Regions from separate parts of the Homo sapiens genome. Here all the other regions are linked to region 3. Evidence: promoter capture Hi-C in 16 types of primary human blood cells and fetal thymus (Javierre and others, 2016). All regions are on one chromosome and are shown on one strand. The core of a region is centred on a gene start or on the middle of the fragment in contact, and the rest is flanking DNA. Distances in the headings are between cores, read along the strand shown.

Evidence for each region. The method cuts DNA at HindIII sites, captures the fragments that hold promoters and counts their contacts. A CHiCAGO score of 5 or more calls a contact.
Region 1: a fragment that was not itself captured here is called in contact with the fragment with the promoter of KLF6 in region 3 in 1 of 17 cell types (neutrophils); the score reaches 5.6 in neutrophils.
Region 2: a fragment that was not itself captured here is called in contact with the fragment with the promoter of KLF6 in region 3 in 1 of 17 cell types (neutrophils); the score reaches 7.6 in neutrophils.
Region 4: a contact is called between a fragment that was not itself captured here and the fragment with the promoter of KLF6 in region 3, in 2 of 17 cell types (neutrophils and total CD8 T cells). The highest score is 10.5, in neutrophils.
Region 5: a fragment that was not itself captured here is called in contact with the fragment with the promoter of KLF6 in region 3 in 4 of 17 cell types (neutrophils, total CD8 T cells, total B cells and 1 more); the score reaches 9.1 in neutrophils.
Region 6: a contact is called between a fragment that was not itself captured here and the fragment with the promoter of KLF6 in region 3, in 1 of 17 cell types (neutrophils). The highest score is 11.0, in neutrophils.
Region 7: a contact is called between a fragment that was not itself captured here and the fragment with the promoter of KLF6 in region 3, in 1 of 17 cell types (neutrophils). The highest score is 6.0, in neutrophils.

What each region holds. Positions count from the first base shown.
Region 1 is chr10:3,447,655-3,450,354 of GRCh38, forward strand. All of the region lies in intron 3 of LINC02669 (long intergenic non-protein coding RNA 2669), which reads right to left. The region is part of intron 1 of LOC105376360 (a long non-coding RNA gene); the gene reads left to right. It overlaps LOC124902538 (a long non-coding RNA gene), which reads left to right and starts at 1,980. Exons shown (of 2, transcript XR_007062362.1): 1 at 1,980-2,700. The HindIII fragment of the contact is 2,460 bases long and covers 99-2,558 here.
Region 2 is chr10:3,411,696-3,414,395 of GRCh38, forward strand. All of the region lies in intron 1 of LOC105376360 (a long non-coding RNA gene), which reads left to right. Among named protein-coding and RNA genes, the nearest start is that of LINC02669, 90 kb to the right of the region's middle. The HindIII fragment of the contact is 6,581 bases long and covers 1-2,700 here.
Region 3 is chr10:3,783,805-3,786,504 of GRCh38, forward strand. It overlaps KLF6 (KLF transcription factor 6), which reads right to left and starts at 1,405. Exons shown (of 4, transcript NM_001300.6): 1 at 1,109-1,405. The coding sequence starts at 1,210. RefSeq lists enhancers at 1-226, 227-783, 784-1,339, silencers at 945-1,544, 1,795-2,074, 2,255-2,314 and a promoter at 1,206-2,143. The HindIII fragment of the contact is 8,520 bases long and covers 213-2,700 here.
Region 4 is chr10:4,154,464-4,157,163 of GRCh38, forward strand. LOC105376368 (a long non-coding RNA gene) reads left to right here. Exons shown (of 4, transcript XR_930587.4): 3 at 61-180. Among named protein-coding and RNA genes, the nearest start is that of LINC00702, 88 kb to the right of the region's middle. The HindIII fragment of the contact is 3,461 bases long and covers 1-2,700 here.
Region 5 is chr10:4,137,450-4,140,149 of GRCh38, forward strand. No RefSeq gene overlaps it. Among named protein-coding and RNA genes, the nearest start is that of LINC00702, 110 kb to the right of the region's middle. The HindIII fragment of the contact is 1,307 bases long and covers 756-2,062 here.
Region 6 is chr10:3,431,499-3,434,198 of GRCh38, forward strand. LINC02669 (long intergenic non-protein coding RNA 2669) reads right to left here. Exons shown (of 5, transcript NR_155743.1): 5 at 2,014-2,700. The region is part of intron 1 of LOC105376360 (a long non-coding RNA gene); the gene reads left to right. Among named protein-coding and RNA genes, the nearest start is that of LINC02669, 70 kb to the right of the region's middle. The HindIII fragment of the contact is 5,189 bases long and covers 1-2,700 here.
Region 7 is chr10:4,105,540-4,108,239 of GRCh38, forward strand. No RefSeq gene overlaps it. Among named protein-coding and RNA genes, the nearest start is that of MIR6078, 120 kb to the left of the region's middle. The HindIII fragment of the contact is 3,080 bases long and covers 1-2,700 here.

The sequences.
Region 1 (2,700 bases), core at 79-2,578, 340 kb before region 3:
TATTTCATTTATTCTTCTTCTTCATACGAATAGAAGCAACAGTTACAAATTATTGTGTACCAATCAGCAGGGCTAAGAATTGTGTATTATCCCATGAAAGCTTTCAAACAATATTGAAATAAAGATATGTCTATAATCTTCATTTTACTGGTGAAGAAACTGAAACTTAGAGAAAGGCTCTATAAGTTGGTTTCCTAGGAAGTGGTAGAGCCAACCCACTGGGCTTTTGTAATTTTTAATTTTTATTTTTTTTACTTTCCTAATTTATTTCTTTTTAAAAATGGCTTGATTGGGGTACGATTGGCATGCAATCATAAAATTAAACCTGTCCAAGTTTAGTGTCTGCACTCGATGAGTTTGAGGATAAGTATCCACCAGTGAAACCAGCACCATCATCAGGGTGGTAAACACATCCCTCACCTCCAAGGGTTTTCTTCCACCCCGTTATTATTATTGTTAAGTTGTTGTTGTTTGTTGTTTTATGAAGCGTTCACATAAGATCCACTGTCTTAGCAATTTTAAGTACACAATACAGTCTTGTTAGCTATGGGTGCTATGCTGTAGAGTAGAGCTCATACCGCATCCACCTGGCATAACTGAAACTTTGTTCCCTTTGACCATCAATGCCCTGTTCCTCCCTTCTCCCAGCCCCTGGTAATCACCACTCTCCTTTCTGCTTCTATGAATTTAACTATTTTAGGTTCCATATATAAATGAAGTCATGTGGTATTTTTCTGTGCTTGGATTATTTCACTTAGCATAATGTCCTCCAGGTTCATCCATGTTGTTGCAAATGACAACATTTCCTTCTTTTTAAAGGCTGAATAATATTCCCTTGTACAAATATGCCCCATTTTCTTTATCCATTCATCCACCAATGAGCATTGAGGCTGTTTCCACGTCGTGGCTGTAGTGAATAACTTTGCAACAAACACAGGGTTCAGAGATCTCTTAGAGATACTAATTTTATTTCCTTTGGATATATACCCCAAAGTGCAATTGCTGGACAATTTGATGTTTCTATGCTTACTTTTTTTTGAGAAACCTCCGACTGTTTTCTACAATGGCTGTACCAGTATTTCCACTAGCAATGTACACAGGTTTCTTTTTCTCTACATCTTCAGTAACTAACACTTCTTATCTTTTTTTTTTTCTGAATAATAGCCATTCTCACAGGTGTGAGGTGATATCTCGTTGTGCTTTTGATTTACTGATAATTAGTGATGTTGAGCACTTTTTCATGAACCTGTTTATCTTTTGTGTGTCTTCCTTGGAGAAATGCCTATTCAGGTCTTTTATCCCTTTTATAATCAGGTTATTTGATTTTTTTTTTTTGCTATTTGTATAAATTATTTGTATATTTTGGATGCTAATCCCTTATCAGATATATGACTTGCACACTTTTTTTTCATTCTCTAGGTTGCCTTTCTATTTTGTAGATTGTTTCTTCTACTGTGCAGAGCTTTATAGTTAGGTATATTTTGCTTGTTTATTTTGACATTTGTTGTCTGTGCTTTTGGTGTCATATCCAGAAAAACACTGCCAAGACCAATCAATGACAACAAACTTTTCCCCGATGTTTTCTTCTGGGAGTCTTACACTTTCAGGTCTTATGATTAAATCTTAAGTCCATTTAGAGTTGATTTTTCTATATGGTACAAGGATCCAATTTCACTCTTCCATATGTGGATATTCAGTTCTCCCTGCACCATTTATTGAAGAGTCTATCATTTCCTCATTGTGTATTCTTGGCACCCTATCAAAAATTAATTGACTGTATATATGTATACATTTATTTCTGGGCTCTCTATTCTATTTCATTGGTTTGTGGGTCTGTTTTTTTTATGCCAGTACCATCCTGTCTTCATTATCATAGCACGTAATGAAATTTGAAATCAAGAGGTAGAGTGCCTCTATCTTTGTTCTTTTTGCTCAACATTGCTTTGGCTATTAGAATTCTTTGTGATTGCTTATGAATTTTAGGATTCCTTTTTCTATTTCTTTGAAAAAAAAGCCTCTGAAATTTTGATAGGAATTGTGTTGAATCTGTAGATCCTTTTGAGTGGTGTGGACATTAAACAATATTAATTTTTCTAATCCATGAACATGAAATACTTTTCCATTTATTTTTATCTAATTTTTCTCATCATAGTTGTTTAGCTTTCAGTATATAGAGCTTTTACCACCTCAGTTAAGTTTATACCTAAGTATTTTATTCTTTATGATGCTATTACAACAGGATTGTTTTCTTAATTTCTATTTTGGGTGGTTCATTTTTAATGTAGAGAATGCTACTGGTTTTTGTATGTTGATTTTCTATCTTGCAACTTTGCTAACTTCATTCAACAGTTCTAACAGATTTTTGGTGGAGTCTTCTGGGTTTTCTGTATATAAGATCATGCTATCTGCACACAAAGACAATTTTACTTCTTCCTCTCTAATGTGAATGCCTTTTACTTTTTTTTCTCACCTAATTGCTCTGTCTAGGACTCCAGCACTATGTTGAATAGAAGTGGAGAACGTGGGAATCCCTGTCTTGCTCCTGATCTTAGAGAAAAAGCTTTCAGCTTTTTACCTTCGAGTATGATGCTATCTGTGGGCTTGCCATGTATGGCTTGTTTGATGTTGAGGTATGTTCCTTCAATACCTAATGTGTTGACAGTTTTCATCATGAGACGATGTTGAATGTTACCAAATGCC
Region 2 (2,700 bases), core at 102-2,601, 370 kb before region 3:
GTGGCTATGCTTCCCCCTGGACACTCAGTCATCAGCTCTGTGGCTGGAGGCAAAGACATGTTTGGACTCCCAGAGCCTGGTGAAGGCTCAGCTATGTGGTCTGGGAAGAGGAGAGAGAAGGGCTGCGTCCTCCCAGGTTGACGCCTGTTGAGGACTGCGTTTCTTCTCTGGCTCAAATCTGGTGCACATCATTTTCTGAGGGCCCACACTGTGTGATTTACCCACATGGCCTAGGACCACTTTATGGAGATGGAGATGCGACAAGGGGCCCACACCAGTCACCTGCCAGCCTCCCTTTGTCTTGGTGGCACAGAAGCCGTCGGCTGGATGCACCCTGGAATGTCAGGAGGAGAGGAGGGAGGTGGGTGAATGCTATTTATTGCATGCTACCCTCGGACCAACGGCTGCAGCAGCCACTGTCCCCTGCCCCCCTCACTCTCCTGCTGTCTTTTACTGGGTTTGGTGATTACCAGAGGCCACCTCCTTGAAGGGTCAGCAACATGGCAGAGCCAACTGAGGTGGGTGTGGATGGATTTGGGCAGCTACACACCCACCGTGGGCTGCACCACTGCACCCTGGTCCGTCCAAGGACCACACACAACTCTGTCTGTGCTTGGACTTTTTGCTCATCAAGCACAGGCAGCCCTCAACCAAGGAGAGGCAGGCACAGGTGAGAAAAACCTCCCTGATCCTGGCCAGTCAGTGGGACTGTCCTGAAGCGCTTGCCCAAACCATCTGCTAGAGGGGCCCAGCTCATTAACCCTAACTGGCTTCCCTGCTGCCTGCCTCTCTGCTCCCTTTTCTCAGGTGGGGACAACCTGCCTCTCTGCTCCCTTTTCTCAGGTGGGGACAACCTGCCTCTCTGCTCCCTTTTCTCAGGTGGGGACAACCTGCCTCTCTGCTCCCTTTTCTCAGGTGGGGACAAGGACAGTGGGTTTTTCCCTGCACGGTCTCACTTTCCCACTCACAATTCACACACATGACTCCACACATTAGAGTCCCCAGCCCCGTGGGGCCCAGCTGGGGGAATTCTGCTGGTCCCACCCCTGGTGATTCCTGTCTGCCGAGGTGGTGTGGCTGCCGTGGGGGTGACCGCTGAGAGCCCCCCGTGAGAGCAGCTTCTGACAGGACAGAGTTCAGCCGCCCCACCCTTGAGATCTGATGCGTCTTCCATTCCTGGGCCCACTCTGCCACCCACATCCTGACCAGGGCCGCATGTCACGGACGTGGATGGCCGGCCTCTGCCCCCAGCCTGGGGTCCCCTAACGGGCAGTCTCTCCTCCGGAGCTCCCCATCAGCTGGGCTGTGGGGCCTCCGTCCGTCCTCGGCTTTTCCTGCCATCTCTCTGCTTCCTTTTCTCCATCTACAGGTGTCTGGCCTGCACCGTGGCCTGAAGCCCTCTAGCCTCTGGCTTCACCTCACCTTTACCCACAACGGGTACGTCCCAACCAATCTCCTGCAAGTCCGATTCCATCTCAGCGTCTGATTCCTGGAGGACCCCACAGACACTGTGTGTTTCCGAGCCTTCTTAACACCTCATTGAAAGATTTACAAATAAGGGTTGTAGGGCCAGTCACGGTGGCTCACGCCCATAATCCCAACACTTTGGGAGGCCGAGGCGGGAGCATCACTTGAGGCCAGGAGTCCAAGACCAACTTTGGAAGCATAGTGGGTCCCCCATCTCTACAAAAAATACCAAAATTAGCCAGGTGTGGTGGTGCATGCCTGTAGTCCCAGCTATGTGGGAGGCTGAGGTGAGAGGATTGCTTGAGCCCAGGGGTTGAAGGTTACCATGAGCTCTCATTGCGCCACTGCACTCCAGCCTGGGTGACAGAGTGAGACCCTGTCTCAAAAAGAAATAAACGAATAAATCAATAAGGTTTGTGCTCAGTGCACAGATCCACCAGACTTTAGTGTGCTGGACCTACTGAGGGTCTCGGGGTGGACCTGAAGGCATCAATCAGAAAGGCCCCCAGCTGCTCCATGCCAGGCCCATAAGGAAGAAACAGAGGCTGGGGCGGTCGCTCACGCCTGTAATCCCAGCACTTTGGCAGGCCGAGGTGGGTGGATCACCTGAGGTCATGAGTTCGAGACCAGCCTGACTAACATGGAGAAACCCCACCACTACTAAAAACACAAAATTAGCCGGGCATGAGGTGCATGCCTGTAATCCCAGCTACTTGGGAGGCTGAGGCAGGAGAATGGCTTGAACCTGGGAGGCAGAGGTTGAGGTGAGCCGATGTCACGCCATTGCACTCCAGCTAGGGCAACAAGAGCAAGACTCCGTCTCAAAACAACAGCAACGACAACAACAACAACGACAACAAAAAACAGAGGTCAGGATCTGTTCCGGGTAAGGCTCAGGAAGGAGAGACTGGCAGCGCATGGGTGAGAGCGTCTCCTCCAGTCGGGTGCCTGCAATGTGAGCACTCGTGAAACAGGGGCTCTGGGAGGAATGTGTGAGGGTGGGCACCGCGTCAGGGGCTTGGTGTCATGGGCTGAGGTGGGTTGGCCAAGACTCATGCGCTGAAATCCTAACTCTCATGCCCCAGGATGTGGCCGGACTTGGAGACAGGGTCACTACAAAAGCAACTGAGTTGAAATGAAGCCGTTGGAGTGGCCCTAATTTGATCTGACTGGCATCCTATGAGAAGAGGAGGTTAAGGCATAGAGAGGCACGCAAAGGGACAACTGACTGAG
Region 3 (2,700 bases), core at 155-2,654:
CCTCCAAAGGCGACCAAGAGCCAGGTCTGGCCGTTTGCCCAAATCCCAAACGCCCGAAGGAAACTACTTAGATCAATTTCAATCACGTCCTAGGGAGCAGCTTCTTTGAGGAGGAAAAAAACAGGAGGGGGAGGGGGAAAAGGCAGGAGAGGACTGTGAACAATTAAGCAGGCGTGTGAAGGTTGCAACACCCTGCATTTCATCTTCCTTAAAGCTTTCGAGGCTTGGAAACCCACAGCCTCTATTTGATCTGGCAATTCACTTTGTGACGAAAAACAAACAGCACAGCAGGGCAGGGAGACAACAGTAAACCCTCCTGCGATCGCTGGAGAGACAATGGGAGGAGTGTCAGTCTCTCTCCCCTCGGGCGATGCTACCTATAAGCACGGGGACCTGGTAAGTTTCTTAAATTTCCAATGCCCCCAAATTCCAGTTCTACGACAATGTCGGAAACCGAGGTCCTTCTTTCCAAACTAAGACTTGAAGCAGTTTGGACGGGCTCATTGTCACAAGACTGACAAGTCACTGGGGTGTACACAGTTTTATTTTTATTTTTCTTGGTCAACAAGAGAAGCAGGGAAGACAAATAAGGCAGATCTAGGGGAAATGTTAGGCATTCCAAAGAGCAGAAAACACATTGGAAATGGTCTACAGTTTAAAAAAGACAAAAATAAAAGAGAGCTGGTCTACGTTCTGGGGGCAAAATGTGATTTTTTTAAAAAACTGTTAAGTACAAGCACCAAGAAACAAAACAAAAACAAAATCCGTTAAAAAAAAACAACAAAAAACAAACAAACAAAAAAAAAACACCTTGGCAGGCAGAGCAAGTTGGTCCCCATGACAAGCTCCAGCTGTGGCGTCTGGAGCGGGGACAGGCTCCGAACTCGTGCCAGGGGCTCGGCCGGGCTGTGCCGGGAGTTGGGGCTTCCCTGGGCGGACGCTGATCGCAGCCTGGAGGATCGATCGGCGGGGGCGCTGCGCCCGCTCCCCCGGTGACAGCGCGGGGCCCAGGCCCAGCGGACCGCAGAGAGCACCGGGTCTGAACCCCAAACAGCCGACCCGGCCCGCGCCCCGGCGCCCGCAGGGAACCGCGGCCGGCTGCGTTTACCTGTTGCCAGTACTCCTCCAGAGACGGCAGCGCCGAGAAGTAGCCGGTCTCGTGCACGATCTGGAGCTCCTGGAAGATGCTGCACATGGGGAGCACGTCCATGTCGGGCCGGGTTGGACGGAGCCCGCGGTCGCGAGGGCGGCGAGGCGCGCGGTGGGAGCCGGAGCCGAAAGTCTCCCCGGAGCGCAGGTGAAAGTTTCATGCAAACTCCAGGCTCGCAGAGACGCCCGGCCGGACCCTCCCGCAGCCCGCAGCGCGCGGAGCCCACACAATATTTGCAAACACCGGACTGACTGCAAACGTAACCCCTGCAAAACTTCCCTATTCAAAGCTCCGCTGCCAGCCTCCCCCTCCGCCCCCGCCTGGCTCCCCCCACTCCCCCTCCCCCCACGTGACTCGCCCCGCGCCCGCCCCGTGCGCGGCCCAATCCCGTGGCTCCCGGCCCGGGGGCTGCGCGCCGATGATGTCAGCTCCGGCCAATCGCAGGCGGCGACACACAGCGGCCCCGCCTGGCGTGACCGAGACTCTCCATCACGGCCCGCACCATTGGCTCAATTCGAACTCTGCTCGTTCTGATTGGAAAGTGGCCTCGCAGGCTATTTTTAGCAGGGTATATAAGGCGCGGGCGGCCGCGCGCCGGAGGAGTCCGCGCTGTGAGGTGCGCGGCCGAGCCCTGCACTGCGCCCGCGGCCGGAGCTAAGGGAGCCGGGGCTGGGAGAGCCGGGGCGGGCCGCGTCGCCTGTCCCCAGTCCCGGTCTCTCTTCCCCGCTGCCCGGTCCCGCCACCCCACGCCCGTCCCGGTCACCAAGCCGGGCCCTGTCGCCGCGCGAGCCCCGGTTCCGGCAGCTCACCCTGCGGGCGGCCGTCCGGTCCCGGGGCCGCCCGGTTCCCCCCCGTCCCCTTCTATGCCCGAGGCCGCCCCGTCCCCAACTGTCCCCTTCTACGCCGGGGGCTTCCCGGTCGCCAACTGTCCCCTTCTATGCCCGGGGCCGCCCCGTCCCCAACTGTCCTCTTCTGCGCCGCTCTGTTTCCCTACATCCCCCTAGTCATCCTCTGTTCTCTAACCTTGGGGTACCCCTCTCTGTCCTCCTCCACCTCCGGGTCCCTCTCTGTCCCCCTCCATCCCTGAGCCCGTCTCCGTCCCCCTCCAGTCCTAGGGTCCCCTCTGTCCTCCGGGCCACCAGAGTGGGGGAGGGGAGCACGCAGGCTCCCCTTGGAATTGGGAGAAACGTGTTTATCTTGTAGAGGGCGATCTTAGCCCTCACCAAGGTTAACAGCTAGGTTTTCCCATGAACGTGTAAACAATTTAGGTGCAAGCCGACATTTAGTGTGTGTGTTTTTTTCCATATAAATTATCTCCTAAAATATACCGTAATGTTCATTTTTAAGAAAAATGTCGAGACTCGAACCAGAGCATTTTAAAATCCAAAATGGAAAACTGAATTGTAACTGTATTATAGTTTTTGTTTCAAAATAGTTTAATGAACATTAAACATTTTGAAAGAATGGACTATGTAAAAAAAAATTAGAGGGTTTTGTATGTTAAGTTTTAGAGGGTCCGGCAGAAGCATGTGGCTGTAAGACTAGGTGGG
Region 4 (2,700 bases), core at 10-2,509, 370 kb after region 3:
TGTGGGAGGGACTGAAATGAAATAGTACAGATAAACCTTACGTGAGTTCACCCTTGGCAGGAACAGGATCATGTTCTAAAGATGAGAAGCCACGCTATTACCAGCAGGTTGGAAGATGAATAAAGGCACCGTCGAGGCCTCTGATGGACTAAACCTGCATGTTCAGCACCCAAATACAAAGTAAGGAAAAGGAAGCATATTCCACTAAGTTCTTGCATGTTTCACTTTATTTTATTTTACATACAATGCTCCTACAAAACATCAGTGTAATTTATTTTTGTGTTAATTTAATAACATTTTTAAACCTAATATTTTAATTACAAAAGACATAGATGTAGAAACACTGATAAACATAATAATAATTTTAAAAATCCATTTGCCATCTTTCCATCCAAAAACATTTACCTTGACTACTTATTAGTACATCTCCCCAGATAACTTTCTATATATTATGCGCACGCATAAAATGGAAGCAAATCCTTGAATAACAGCTTTTATATTGTGTACCTTAAATATATGTATATTGCACTGTGTGATTCTATGTTTGGGCTCTCTGTTCTGTTCCATTGATCTGTTCATCTATTATTTTGCCAGTACCACAGTCTTCATTACTGTAGCTTTATAATAAGTCTTGAAGTCAAACAGAGCAAGTCTTCTGACTTTGTTCTTCTTCAACACTCTTTTGGCAAGCTGGGTGTTTTGTCTCTCCATATAATAGAATCCATTTGTTGATGTCTAAAAATTAACTTGCTGGCATTTTGACTGGGAACATATTGAATCTATAGATCAAGTTGAGAACAGCTGACATCTTAACAACACTGAGTCTTCTTACCCACACATGTGGAATATTTCTCCACTTATTTACATCTTCTTTGATGTGTTTTATCTGAGTTTCCTACTTTTAGCTCTTGTACATATTTTCATCAGATTTACACTTAAGTATCATTTTTGGGTGCTAATATAAGTGATGTGTTTCTAATTTTAAATTTTAATTGTTCATTACTGGTATATGGCAAGCAATTGACTTTTGTATACTTCCTTTGTACCTTACAACCTCGGTACAATCACTTATTCATTCCAGCTTTCTGTCATTGAGTTTTTTTTTAACAGAGATAATCATGTCATCTATGAACAAAGAGAGTCTTATTTGTTCCTTTCCAATCTGTATAATTTTTATTTTTTGCTAATTTTATTAGCTAGAACTTTCATTTTGATGTTAAATAGAAATTTCGAGAGTAGATATCCTTGCCTTATTTCTGATCTTAGCACGAAAGCATTCAATTTTTCATTATTTATTAAGAGGAGAGCTGTAGGTTTTAATAGATGTTCTATGTCAGGTTGAGAAAGTTCTTCTTTATAGCTAGTTTGCTGAGGTGTTTTATCATGAATGGGTATTGGATTTTATCAAATTCTTTCACATATGATTGTATGATTTTTCTTCTTTAGACTGTGGAAGTGGTAGATTATGTTAATTGCTTTTTGAATGTTGAGCCAACCTTTCATACCTGAGACAAATCTTATTTGTTTATTTGAAATGATAATGACTGAGAATTTTTCAAAATTAATGACTGACACTGGCAGGGCACAGTGGTTCATGCCTGTAGTCCCAGCGCTTTGGGAGGTCGAGGTGGGATGTTTCAGGCCAAGAGTTCAAGACCAGCCTGGGCAACATAGCAAGACCTCATCTCAATAAGAAATAAAACAAAAAGGCCAGGCGCGATGGCTCACGCCTGTAATCCCAGCACTTTGGGAGGCCGAGGTGGGTGGATCATGAGGTCATGAGATCGAGACCATCCTGGCCAACATGGTGAAACCCCGTCTCTACTAAAAATACAAAAATTAGCTGGGCATGATGGTGCGTGCCTGTAGTCCCAGCTACTTGGGAGGCTGAGGCAGGAGAATCACTTGAACCCGGGAGGCAGAGGTAACAGTGAGCTGACATCGTGCCACTGCACTCCAGCCTGGGTGACAGAGTGAGACTCCATCTCAAAATAAATAAATAAATAAATAAAATAAAAGAAATAAAACAAAAAATTAGACAGGTGCCAGAGTGCACTCCTGGCCTTTAATTTTAATTACTATGGAAGCTGAGGTCGGGGAACATCCCTTAAGATTGAGGTTAGGGTGAACTGTGTTGGCACGACTGTGCTCCAGCCTGCACAACAGAGCGAAACCCTGTCTTTAAAAACAAACAAGCAAACAAAAAATGATTGACTCTAAACCACAAACCCAGACAGTCCTGCCTCCAATGTGTCAGCTTCTGCTCCTGGGTTTCTGTCACAAGTAAACTGTTATTCTCTCTGAGTATCTACCCCTCTTTCCCGTTTTGGGGGCAGCAGTCTGCCCTGTGACTGCGAGTCTCTGATGGATATAAGAAGAGTTGTTGATTTTCAGTTTGATCAGTTTTTTCTTGGTCTGAAGATGGAAGTGAGATCTTTCAAAGTCTTTACATGTCAGACCATGTTGTTATTTTTCAAAAAATAAATCCAAAGTTAGGAATTTTTTTTGAGACAGGGTCTGCTCTGTTGCCCAGACTGGAGTGCAGTGGCACGATCTCAGCTCACTACAACCTCCGCCTACCGGGTTCAAGCAATTCTCCTGCCTCAGCTTCTCCAGTAGCTGGGACTACAGGTGCATACCGCCACACCCAGCTAATTTTTTGTATTTTAGTAGAGACAGGGTTTTACTGTGTTGCCCAGG
Region 5 (2,700 bases), core at 159-2,658, 350 kb after region 3:
TCCCACATCACTAGTCATGGGGAAATGCAGCTTAAAATCAAATGAGACCTCATTGCTCCCCAACCAGAACTGCTGAGTCAACATTGGTGAGCAATGGCAGGCCGTGGCAATGACAGGGGCCGCCTGAATGCTCAACCCTTGTTGGTGGAAACCTTGGCATGTGTAGCCCATGTGTGGTGGTTTCTCCTAAAATGGGACATACACATTCGGTATCACCCACATTTCCACTCCTAGGAATCTATCCAACCAAAATGAGGACAAGTGTTCATAAAAAGATGTGTACAAGAATGTTTATGGTGACACTCTTCATAACAACTCCGAAGGCAAAACAACCAATGCATATGAAGAGCAGAACGAGGACACTGTGGTGCATTCAAAAAACAAGATTGTTTCATTGCGATTTTCAAATGCAAAACTCATCTCAAGTGTGAAAGACGGAATAGTGGATGCTTTTGGTGAGGGTAGTGACTTCTAGGGCATGGGAGTATCTGAGCTGCTAGCAATGTTTTATTTCCTGGTCATGGCAGTGGTGACACAGAGGTGATTGCTTTGTGAAAATTATCATTTTTTGCACTTCAATTGTGCATATTCTTATGATGTGTGCACTTTTCAGTGTGTAAGCTACACCAATAAAATTCCCTCAAATTATGTGTTCAGTGGTAATTAAAATTCTGCAATTATTTTTTAAATAAAGAAATGACAATACTGTGAGCAATCAGTTGAGTTGGATGTTATCATGAACAAGAAAGAGGAGAAGCTTCACCCTTGATCAAGAGTTTCCAACATTCTCTATGCCTCTGGAGCCATAGAGTGGGAATTTCAGTGCTGATTAAATTCCAGTCTGATTTTTTTTTGCATTGTCATAGCTTTGTTACTTAATGAGGTATTGTAAGAATTCCTGCTATTCCTTCCATGGTTGTTATAAATGTTGACATTAAAAGACCTTATTGCAATAGTAAAATGAGCTCTACAACCAATGGTTGCCTGTGAGTGATAATGGGGCCATGACCTTATAGGATTTACCAGTCACTGCACACCTAAGTCATTAATTTGCTAAACACTTTGTGCAATCCCAACTATGAAAAGTACTATACGAGCCAAAATTCTATTCTCTCCTATACGATGATTAATCATGTTTGATTAATACGATGTAAAATATCATTAAATAATTTAAATGCAGGTGCATGGATTAAAGTTACTCTAGAGCTTTCATGACATCAACAGTGACAAATTATGTGCAAGTTTAAGTTTGCACAAGTGATTAATCTGCTATTCTGCAGTTAAAATTAATTATTATTAATTATTATGCTCATATTTACATGACTGGTTCAAAATATGGCCATTAATGCACTGCATTTTCACAAAGTTATTTTTAAATGTAATCTTACATACTTAATGTACGGCAAGTACAAAGAGCAAGAGAGAATTGGCTCAAAATTGTAATTTTAGCTGTTTTAGCTTCAGGTTTAGCTGACTAATTTTTATTAAACAGCCGAGGTTATTAAAATATTTTATTTGTTCTGTCTGTACAGAGGCTAAATAGGATTGTATTATTCTTATAGTTAAGTGGACTGGTATATATGTTTCCAAATTTTATCTGTAACTATTGGCATGATTTTCTTTTGAACAATATATTCGGATGTTCTCAACCTGTCTCATGAGTACACTTACCCAAGAAGTGAATGAAGAGGAGGCTTTTAGATGCCACAGAAGCAGAGTAGGAAGATTCTAGAATGAGAGAGCTGAGACCCACATTAGACATGAGGTGTTGCCTCTGTTGCCCTGCTGGGAGGGTTTACTTGAACCACTTCAGACAGATATTTATCTTACTCTCCAGAGATAGAGATTTTATAGCTTGTGTACAATATGCGATGGTTAGCCACTCTTTGTTGTTTGAGAGTATGAGTGTATAATAAAAATAACCTTTAAATAGTAGCCACAGTACCAAGAACTTCCATTTATTCGGTACCTATTTGGTTCTAGACCTTGTTTTGGCTCTTCACATTTATTGTCTTGTTGAGATTTTAGAAAACATTTTCTTTATTACAGTTGACAATACAGAAGCTTGTTTGTCTAAGGCCGTTAATGACACAGGTCTGACTCCTGGTGAAGGACTTTTGGAAAATCAAATCTACACAGGGAAGAGCTAAGTGATGTGTATAAGACACAATCTATTCATGTAAATGTCCCCTCACTTTTCTTTCTGGAGGTCAAACTATCATATGTTTGTTGCTTACCTTGAGAGGCCTATTGACCAGGATATACAGTAAATGTCTTTTAGCTATTTTTGTTAAAAGTAATGCTTCAACTGGTTCCCATTCATACTTGCTAGTATTTATCCCTGCAGTGATACTCAGATATACATGGAAGGTGAAGGGGAATGAAATTGAATATATAGTGTGATGGTTAATAGTGAGTGTCAACTTGATTGGATTGAAGGATGCAAAGTATTAATCCTGGGTGTGTCTGTGAGGGTGTTACCAAAGATTAACATTTGAGTCAGTGGGCTGGGGAAGGCAGGCCCACCCTTAATATGGTGGGCACCATCTAATCAGCTTCCAGTGAATATAAAGCAGGCAGAAAAACATGAAAAGGTGAGACTGGCCTAGCCTCCCAGCCTACATATTTCTCCCATGCTGGATGCTTCTTGCCCTCTAACATTGGATTCCAAGTTCTTCAGTTTTGGAACTCAGACTGGCT
Region 6 (2,700 bases), core at 151-2,650, 350 kb before region 3:
TACAGTGAGTTCTCATGAGGGCTCATCTCCTTGTCTCATTCAGGTCTTCATCCATCGGCCTCCTCAGTGGAGAATGAGCCTGCAGTAGACAGTGACTGTGGATATCTCACTGTGGCATTCCCAGGGCCTACCCTAACCCCACCCATTTGGCCCCCACCAAGGGGATGTATTCCCTGGAAACGTCCACGTGTGGATTGCGCTGCCCACCTCCATTCCCTGTGCTCCTGGGAATGGCACTGACATTTGACCTGCAGGGAGCAGAGACATCCCATGTTTTGCCTGTGGAATTTGGGGGCCCTGACCCAGTCCAGCTCCAGGGCTGAACTGGAGTCACCAGTCAGTCAGTTAACAAAGCCACACGGCGGCCACAGGGATTGATCTGCAGATAAGAACGTGTCCTACTTAGTGCCCAGAGAGTCATGAAGGCAGTTTTGGATTCTCTGGAGAGAGAGACCTCCCTCTCATCTGTGGAGATGGGCAGTGGGGAGAGCACAGGAGATCCTACAGAATGGGGCACCTGGACAGGCCAGAAGGACGCTGGAGGGCAGCTGCCACCACAGATGCTGATACACTTGCCCTTGGATGGCTCTTCTGAACCTAGGCCTAGCTCTGGAGTGGTTTATGAAAGCCCCTAAGTCCCTCTTTTTAATTTTAGCTTGCATTGGGTGGTCTGTCACTTGCAGCAGAAAATCCCCGGCTCACAGCTCCCGTGTGAGTAAAGGCACTTGAATGCTGTTTCCTTGGAGGTTGGCCCTGAGATGGTTTCATGCCACTGCCACTAGGGACACTGGGACCATAGCTCGCAGAATCACTGAGAGAAGCAGACACATACCAGTTAGCATGGCAGTGGGTTTGGGAAAACAGATTGAATTTTTATTCACTGTGGCCCGTCCCAGCCTTGCCTTCTCCTTGTCATAATTTTGTCCATTATTTTTAGTATTTTAACATCAAATGCCCAAGTTAGTGAAGATGTTTTACTTCAAAATGTAGACCCCAGAGAACAAAATGAGATACAAAACCTTTTTGGAACATGTGTTTAATGACATACTTTAATGGAACTTTTAGCTGCTGTGGAGAGGTTTTTGGCATGAGTTGTATAGCTTCTTTTAGCAAATTTCCTAAAAATCAGATGCATTTTACACTTGGCTGCATAGTAAACCCTAAAAGGGTTCCTGGAATGGATTGAAGTCTAAGAAGCCCAAAACAAATAAGACATTCATCTGCATGTTCTCAGAGCAACATCCCCAGCTGAACTGGGCTCTGTGGGGACTCAGCATGGCATCTCCCTACAGGCATTTTCCCCTTTAATTTGTCAGGGTTCCCCTAGGGTTAGCTTGCATCATATTCTACCTTGAAGTCCAAAATCAATTTCTATAAGCAGTACCCAGATGGGGAAACTGAGATCAGGTCTCTGTTACCAGATGGATGTCATATTCTCTCTCTCTCTCTCTCTCTCTCTCTCTCACACACACACACACACACACACTTTTAATGAATGAGAAAATGCATTCACATCACATTTTAATAGGATTGTTCTCAGGAATGATGGAGGCCATATTTATGAAAGGATTCCAGCATGGTTCTTGGCACATAGTAAACCCTCAGATATACCTGTATATGTGCGTGCGTGTGTGTGTGTGTGTGTGTGTGTATTTTAAATGCTCATCTTATACCAAGAACAAGTGACAATAAACATTTCAAGACAAGCGGCTGTATTTCAAATACTGACAGACCAGGGAGAATTTTATGTTAGTCACTCAGACCTAGCAGCTAGTAGGAGATTGTGTTCCGGAAGAGCGGTCACGGCTAGAATGGAGTATGTAGGACAGCAATGCCAAGGTACTGTGTTCAGCGAGTGGCAGAAGCAGGGAGGAAACGGGGCTTGTTAGAGTGGATAAGGTCATGGAACTGCTGGGAAAGGGAGCAGGAAGGGTTGCCAGTGAGATTTCAAACACTATCTTCAATCCCTCAAGAATGAGACAGGGGAAGGAATAGAGGAAACATCCCAATTTATGAAAACTTTTTGTTTTTTTTATTGTGACAGAGTCTTGCTGTATCCCCCAGGCTGGTGTGCAGTGGCATGATCTTGGCTCACTGCAACCTCTGCCTCCTGGGTTCAAGCGATTCCCATGCCTCAGCGTCCCGACTAGCTGTAGGCGCCTACCACCAAGCCCGGCTGATTTTTGTATTTTCAGTAGAGACAGGTTTTTACCATGTTGGCCAGACTCGTCTTGAACTCCTGACCTCAGGTGATCCGCCCGCCTCGGCCTCCCAAAGTGCTGGGAATACAGGCATAAGCCACCCCGCCCGGCCTTATTATGAAAACTTTATGAGAATTGAGGATCCCAGCAGAAAGTATTGAGTGTGTCTGGCATAAGTGGGGTTTTGGATTTTGGGTAAAGAGAGGCCTAGTTCCTGCTCTACACTCCATGCTTCTCTCCTAATCTCACAGCCTCAAAACTTCCTCTCCACAATGTCTCCGCCCTGATGGCCTGACGGAACATCAGGCCCTGGTTTCCTGCTACTCAATATTGACTTGGTGGTATCCACTAGCACCTGAAGTGTAAGAACTCCCCACTAAACTCATCCTCTCCTCTTGCTTTTTCAAATCCCTACTAATGGCAGCTTCCTGTATAAACACAATGGCACTTTCAGTTTCTCGTCAACAGCTCAACACCCGTGGCCTTTTGGCTTTGCCAT
Region 7 (2,700 bases), core at 11-2,510, 320 kb after region 3:
GTGCAATTTACAGTAGGGTTTGTGCTCCTATGAGAATCTAATGCTGTTGCTGATTTGACAGGAGGCAGAGTTCAGGTGGTAATGCTCTCTTCTCCCTGCTGTGCCACCCAGTTTCTAACAGGCCACAGACTAGTACTGGTCCACGGGCCAGGGGCTGGGGACCTCTGACTTAAAGTAAAAATATGTGAAAATTGTTTCTTAAGAGAAAAATAATTTCTTCTAAGAAAGGATAATTTCTGCATCATATGAAGAAAGACCTGTTTTTATTAACGTGTTAATTACATTATTGTTACTAAAAGACCATATGTACAATATTTAACTTGATTTTTTCACGATGGTTGTGAAATATATTATCATGCTGAACTTGGACATCTCTATGTAGTAAGAAGGGCCTACATAGAACATAGAGGCTCTTCTTTGGGTTTTGTTTGTGACATGTCTGAGCTCTTCCATGGCTGACCCACTATTAAACAGAATACTGGGACGTGCTTTTGTCTAATTGTAAGGGTGTATAAATGCAGTCATCTTAAAAGCATTCTACACACCCTTGCTAAAAGAGGCCTGCATTAGTACACAGGAAATGTTCATTTTATTTATTCAACCTTCGAGTTCCTTATTAGCAGTTGTAGAAAAGTAAAGATTTATTCGTTAGTAAAATCCAAAGACTCCATTTACCAAATTTTTATTCTTTACTTTAATGAAATTTGTCTGTAGGGCTTTTAAAATTCATTTATAAAGTTGGAACTATATTCAGCTCTGCTGTCTTAGAGATAGATGGCCACATTATTACTTGTCTGTCAAATATAAGTAGGGCTGTTAATAACTGAGAGACAACTAAGAAAACTACCAAACATGGGTGTTTCCTTTGCAGGAAATTGCAATTCTAACCCCTGCATTCCTCTTGGAATCAATTACCTGACTGCAAGTATTACGAAGTCGCTTACTTTTATAGTTAGGGGCACAAGACCTAAGTTAGTGTTCTTCAAAACATCGCCTCTAAGAAGGCAAGTGAAGCTGAAGACTATAAACATGAAGAGGATGTGAACACGACACCTGAAGCAGGGTGACGCCAGCCCATTCTGTCCACTCCATAAGGATAGCCCTTGTTCCATTCGGTCCAGTATACATATTTCCACATGATGCTGAGATTGGGGCAGCAGTCAAAGAAGTGAAGAACTGCAGGGTGTTGTAAAAAGATCAGACTTATGGCCAGGCGCAGTGGCTGATGCCTGTAATCACAGCACTTTTGGAGGCAAGGCGGACAGATCACGAAGTCAGGAGTTCGAGACCAGCCTGACCAACATGGTGAAACCCCGTCTCTACCAAAAATACAAAAATTAGCTGGGCGTGGTGGCAGGCACCTGTAATCCCAGGTACTCAGGAGGCTGAGGGAGGAGAATCACATGAACCTGGGAGGTGGAGGTTGCAGTGAACCGAGATCGCACCACTGCACTCCAGCATGGGTGACAGAGCGAGACTCCATCTCAATAAAATAAAATAAAATAAAAAAGTAAAATAAATCAGACTCATTCTCAACCTGTAAAGTATTGGTACATTTTTGGAGATACCTTCTTTTTTCTTAGACTCAGCAATAGAGTCTAGAAAGAGAATGTAATAAAAGAAACAGTGTTAGACTACATTAAAAAAGGATTTTCCAGACTAGACAGTCCAATTTTTAAAATATGTATATATAGGTGCAACTAAATCCCTATTTTAGCTATCTTCACCCTTCTATCTTAGGGTAAACCAATGAGTCAATACAACCCTACAATTTCCCAAATGTGAATTGGAGACACACTATCCAAGAATAAGCAACATCTATGAAAACTGCTGAGACATGTTATCAGTTAATATGCATGTGGTAGGCACCCTTCCTGCTGCAGTAGATACAACAGTAATGTGTAGAAAGGACATCTGAAACATTACTTAGTGTTATGAAGATCATTTGGATCTCCAAGAAAAGGGAAGTCATTATGGATTGGTTGCCACAGCAAAGAGTTCGTGCAAAAGTGAAACCGGAGTTAGCCCCTGAAGATGAGTGTTGAATGCAGACAGATTGACAAGGATGCTGAAGAATTTAGTAACACTTGAATTGTGTATTCGATCCAAAAAAAGATGACTCATCACGAAAAAAATTAACATTTTTTTTCATTTCATTTTAAAGAACGATACTCGGCTTGTTTTAAAATCTTCCTTTTAAGTCTTTTTCTTCTGGTTCATTTTCAGATATTGGGTATTTCAAGACTTTACTTGTGAGAAAATCAGCAATAATATGTTCATTTATTTTCATAAACTAAAGAAGATAGCACTGATACCTGGAAACGTTATTTTTTTTTCACTTGGGAGGAAAACATTGTTAGTCTTTGGCAATATGTGATTATGGATGTGATTTGGTAGAGTGGCTGACATGTCATCCACATTGATTCTTTTGTGAACATGTTTCAGTTTGTAGCTTCTATGTGATGACAATTTCACTTACCTACATCACAGGCCAGGGGAGGGTAATGTACAACTATGTCCTCACTGCTTAGTGTGCCCTCAGAATTGAGAAGCTGCTTGGCTAAGAAAAGCTGAGAGCTTCAGGAACAAGAATCCTGGTGCTGAGACAACGTCTTATTTTCCTTTAACGTTCCACATTGTGGCAGAGTTTTACAGAATCTGTTTGGGAGCAGAGGAAAGGTCATGCCAGAAGAATAATTG